2 separate regions of the Homo sapiens genome follow, and region 1 is linked to region 2. Evidence: promoter capture Hi-C in 16 types of primary human blood cells and fetal thymus (Javierre and others, 2016). All regions are on one chromosome and are shown on one strand. The core of a region is centred on a gene start or on the middle of the fragment in contact, and the rest is flanking DNA. Distances in the headings are between cores, read along the strand shown. Region 1 has its middle 2.3 kb from the start of SLC17A5. Region 2 holds the start of PSMB1 (proteasome 20S subunit beta 1).

Region 1 (2,700 bases), core at 81-2,580, about 97 Mb before region 2:
ACCTATGGAATCCTCTGATGTATGTGTGCATGCTTTATCTCCACGATAGAATTTGGATAGATTGTGCTAGCATTTGCGGACTCTGAAAGTGAAACTAGGAAAACCCAGCTTGCCTTGGCAGGGCAGATCTGGATCCGCCAATAAAGGCTGTCTCTGTGGAGGTAGAAAATAAGATGTAGATGCTCTCGGAGAGTTTGGTGTAGACAGGGAAGACCCACAAGCCACTAATTCAGTAAACCAGGTTAGAAGCTTAGTGAGGTTCACGTGAGAACAAAGGGGAGGGTCCTTTACCTAGAAGGGAGGGCGAGGATTTCTGTAGGCATCCCTACCTCCAGATCAGTAAATGCTAGAAAAGTTCTCAAGTTAAAGCAGCAAATCAAGCCTTGTTTCTGAGTTACTGAATTACCATGTAGATTTTTACACTCTCTAAGGGTTGTAGAAAAATGCAATTTTCAAACTGGATTATGCAGAGTCACCTGGCAAATCCTTTTAAAATGTAGATTCAGATTCAGCAGATCTGGTGTGATGGTTAATTTTATGTGTTAACTTGCTGGTTGTCTTTGGATGAGGTTAACACTAAAATCATTGAACTCTGGGTAAAGATGGCTGCCTTCCATAATCTGGGTGGGCTTCCTTCAATCAGTTGAAGGCCTATCTAGAATAAAAAATCCGACTCCCCCACTTCTCTTGCCCAAGCAAGGGAGACTTCTCCAGCAGAGTGTCCTCAGACTTCATCTGCACCACAGGTCCTCCTGGGTCTCCAGGCATGTGCACCATCATCTGTTTTGGGTCGAGTTGGCCAGCCTATATTGTGAAAGCCAAAACTTTATTACCCAAACTACCCAATTGGGGCTGTTTCTCTGAGAAGCCCAGTACATCTGGGATGTGCCTGAGATTCTGTATTGCTAACAAGCTCCCAGATGACCAAGGTTATAGATAACTTGGGCCAGGGAATATAGTTGCAACAGACTTGAAAGACTTCAAACCAGAGGAATTCTTTTTTTTAATATTTTTTATTTTAGAAATTTTAGGTTTACATAAACGTTGCAAAGATAGTACAGTGAGTTCTCCATACCCTTTGCTTAGTTTGACCTATTATTAAGATCTTACATTAGTATCATGCATATATCATAACTAACGAGCCAGTATAGATAATTATTAACTGAAGTTCATACTTAATTTGCGTTTCTTTAATTTTTACCTAATATCCTTTTTCGGTCCCAGGATCTCATCCAGGATGCCACATTACATGTCTCCTTAGGCTCCTCTAGATCGACAGTTCCTGACTTTCATTGCTTTTGCTGACCTTGACAGTTTTGTAGAGTACTGGTAGGTTTTGTAGAAAGTGTCTTAATTTGGGTTGTCGAATTTTTTTTTGAGACGAGGTCACGCTCTGTCGTCCAGGCTAGAGTGCAGTGGCACGATCTCGGCTCACTGCAGCCTCCACCTCCCAGGTTCAAGCGATTCTCCTGCCTCAACGTCCCGAGTAGCTGGGACTATAGGTGCATGCCACCACGCCCGGCTAATTTTTTGTATTTTTAGTAGAGATGGGGTTTCACCATGTTAGCCAGGATGGTCTCCATCTCCTGACCTCCTGCCTCAGCCTCCACCTGCCTCAGCCTCCCAAAGTGCTGGGATTACAGGCATGAACCACCACCCCCGGCCTGAATGTTTTTCTTATAATTAGACTGGGGTTATGGATTTTTGAGGGAAAGGTCATAGAGGTAAAGGGCCATTCTCATCATGTAATGTCAAGGGAATGTGCTGTCAACTTATTTATCACTGATGTTTATCAGTAGTGATGGTAAGCCTCATTGCATGCCTGAGGTTGTGTTTGTCAGGTGTTTTCACTGTGAAGTTAACTCTTTTCCCCCGGCCTTACTTTTCTCTTTGGAAGGAAATCAGTATGTGCAGCCTTCACTTAAGGGGTGGGGAGTTATCTATACTCCACCAGTTTCAGGGGAAGAATTCTTTTGTTTGGGAGATTTGTTTATTCTCCTACATTTATTTACTTATTCAATCATTTATTTTTATTAGTATGATGTCATGGTTATTATTTTATACTTTGGGTTATACTCCCAACACTATGTTATTTATTTTGTTGCTCAAATTGTTCCAGCTTTGGTGACTAAGAGCTCTTTCAGTTGGCTCTTGTGTCTTGCATGCCTCCATTGTTGTGTTTTTTGAGCATTCCCTTACTTTCTGGTACAACAAGATGTTCCAGGCTCATCTTGTGTATTCTCTACCCCTGCCATTTCTATAAGGAGAATGATATTACAAACTAACATCTGAGCATTGGGTGTACTTCTTCCTATTGCAGTGTCATTGATTCTAGGTTCAGAGGAGGTACTTTGGTTTTTGTTTTTATAATCTTCCCAAGAAGATTTTGAGACAGGATCTTACTCTGTCACCTAAGCTTGAGTGCAGAGGTGTGATCACGGCTCCCTGTAGGCTCCACCTCCTGGGCTCAAGTGATCCTCCTACCTCAGCCTCCCTGGTAGCTGAGACCACAGGCATGTGCCACCACGCCCTGCTAATTTAAAAACATTTTTGTTAGAGACAGGGCCTCCCTGTGACGCCCAGGCTGGGCTCAAGCAGTCCTCCTGCCTTGACCTTCCAAAGTATTGATATGATAGGTGTGAACCACTGTGCCTGGCCCCAAGAAGATTAAAAAAAAGTATGATGACACATTTTTTCCCC
Region 2 (2,700 bases), core at 15-2,514:
AATTTATGAGGAACCAATTAACATTTTTGCTTTGTTTTTAAAATTTATTTTTGTAGAGATGGGGTCTTGCTATGCTGCGCAGGCTGGTCTTCAACTCCTGGCCTCAAGCGATGATCCTCCTGCCTTGGCTTCCCAAAGTCCTGGGATTACAGGTGCGAGCCACACTGCCCAGCCAATATTTTCTGTTTTAAGAACCATCGGTTCGTTCAAATTGCGTGTGTATATTTTAATGTACAAGGCTTGATTGGTAACTATAACCACTGTTTCAATTTACAGCTCTTCCCTGTCAAGAGTCTTAAACAGAGCATCTTTCTATAACCCTAAATCTCTGGCGTGCCACCACGGAAAATTATACTACTCAAGATAAAGCTGGTAATTAAAATAAAAACCAAAACTTGAACATAACATACAAGAACACACATACTAAAAGGTCCATCTTCTGAGTATTTTGTTTTCCTGAACTTAAGCTAAACGTTAAAAAAAAAAAGCACTTATCTATGAAACTAAGTTTGCTCAGCCAATCCCACCTTCTATTTGAAATAAAACAAAATGATTAAACTGCTACAATTAGAAATAACAGAAATCAGGCGGCTACAATTAGACATCTCGGCTACCAACCCAGCTATGCATCTAACAACACAGACCAAACAACCCTAACTTTTAAGTTTCAGACGCTAACCCTCTACCCTCGCCGGCTGGCATAAGAAACGTGTACATGAGGTCCAGTTTTAATGGTCTTCCACAGAGCAGAGGCTATGTTTCAATTTCTACTTTACTGTCTTACAGCAGCAAGGAGCACGGAGTGGCGGTCCACATAAAAACTCAAATGACATGACTGTAATGGGAAACCCTAAAAACCAAGGCTGTATCGCAATCACCAAGTAAACTTGAGCAAAGCGAGCCTGAAGAGGGAAACACAGGGCATGAGAGGACGGCAGGGAGACCGGCCTTGTGCGGACCCCCTCAGCTCAGGGTTCTGAGGCCTGCAGGAGCCCGGGGCAGCGCCATCACGGCGGTGACTCCTAAATAGGCTTCAGCAGATGGGGGAAGGGCGAAAGTGAAAGCCGCAGCTCTCTGGGGTTTTTACCCTCCGTTGAAAACGTAGGGCGAAAATCGCAGCTGCAAAGGGCCCGCGGCTCTGTGCGGTTCCATCCCCAAGTCTCTGCCAGGAGCCGAATACATGGCTGTAGAGGACAACATCGCACGGCTGCGCCTGCGGATCCGACACTTGCTGTCTCACGGCGAGATGGCTGCCTTGACCGGACGTTACGCCACTTCCGGCTTCTCCTGAAGTTCGCTCCCGGCCTCTCTATCTCACGCTAGTCGTTGCTCCTGGAGGGCTGCACGGCGGCTTGTCCCTTTGGTAGTTGAATCCCGCCCATTCCAAAAAGCGCTGACAGGGATGTAAAGGGTTTTTTTTGTTTGTTTTTTGTTTTTTTCCCCCTCGAAGAAAACATTGGAATTCACCCCAATGGACAAAAATTTAAGTCTGACCATACAAAAAAATTGTCAGAACTATGGCGCAACGGCAACTCGAATAACGGTGGGAACGTTAATTGTCCTGGCTAATAAAAAATGTATATAACATTTCCTATCCTTAAAGAGCTCACAACCTCACTGATAATAAAAAGTACAAAGAAAACAAGCAGTATAACATATGATTACGCCACAATGAACTACAGAAGGGAAAATCAAGGCGTGCTGAAGTCCCACTAAGAAACAACTGCGGAAAGAGCCATGTGACAACAGTGCATGAACTGGGAGTGGCAGAACTGAATATAAATGCATGTGTAAACACAAGCTGTTTGTTTTGCTTAGTGTTCCTTGTCATTCTACACGCTTGAAGATCAGCTAGCGTTCTTGCTGACAGGTAAGGAGGACGCGCTTACTGAGTGCCAAGCACTGCTCAGGCACTGATTCTGTCAATCTCTGTCAATCTCCCGACAGCCCAAGGGTAAGCACTGTTATCATTATTCAATTTTACAGAAAAAAAATGCGGGGGAGAGGTCAGGTAACTTGTCGAAGGTAACGCCGCTAGTTGCTTTAAACAACAACAACAACAACAACAAAACACACTCACACATATACACACACACGCCATTTAAAAATCGATCTTTCCTACGTCCAGCAAGGGCCAATTAGAGATGGCTGTGGCACGGCGGCCCCGCCCCGGAACTCCTCAAGAGCTTCGCCCCTCCTTACCTATGGAAACACAGGAAGTGACCTATGCTCACACTTCTCATGGCCTCGGCCCTAGTGGGAGCAACTCGCTGAAGCCGAGGGCAGAACTGGCGGAAGTGACATTATCAACGCGCGCCAGGGGTTCAGTGAGGTCGGGCAGGTTCGCTGTGGCGGGCGCCTGGGCCGCCGGCTGTTTAACTTCGCTTCCGCTGGCCCATAGTGATCTTTGCAGTGACCCAGGTAACAGATTGTACTCTTTTCTGACGGTTCGGGCGAAGGCCACCACTGCACTGAGGCCTGGGGGCAATGGTGGGGAAGAGACTAGGAATTGGCGCGCGTGCAGGCCCCTCGGGGGACGTTCCTCCCTTTCGTGCTGCCGCCGTTCCGGCCTGTAACGGCCACTCGGCCGCCACTCCCGCCTGGTGCCCTACTCTGCTGTGTTTCGCAGGCAGCTTCCCATCGTACGATTGTGGGGCTCAGGGTACTACTGGCTGGCTGGGCGGCGGCAGGCGGGACAGG

What was found. The method cuts DNA at HindIII sites, captures the fragments that hold promoters and counts their contacts. A CHiCAGO score of 5 or more calls a contact.
Region 1: a contact is called between a fragment that was not itself captured here and the fragment with the promoter of PSMB1 in region 2, in 2 of 17 cell types (activated CD4 T cells and total B cells). The highest score is 9.0, in activated CD4 T cells.

What each region holds. Positions count from the first base shown.
Region 1 is chr6:73,654,901-73,657,600 of GRCh38, forward strand. No RefSeq gene overlaps it. Among named protein-coding and RNA genes, the nearest start is that of SLC17A5, 2.3 kb to the left of the region's middle. RefSeq lists an enhancer at 207-296. The HindIII fragment of the contact is 2,167 bases long and covers 248-2,414 here.
Region 2 is chr6:170,552,043-170,554,742 of GRCh38, forward strand. It overlaps PSMB1 (proteasome 20S subunit beta 1), which reads right to left and starts at 1,265. Exons shown (of 6, transcript NM_002793.4): 1 at 1,088-1,265. The coding sequence starts at 1,200. It overlaps TBP (TATA-box binding protein), which reads left to right and starts at 2,327. Exons shown (of 8, transcript NM_003194.5): 1 at 2,327-2,421. RefSeq lists enhancers at 1,018-1,397, 2,208-2,597. The HindIII fragment of the contact is 7,721 bases long and covers 1-2,700 here.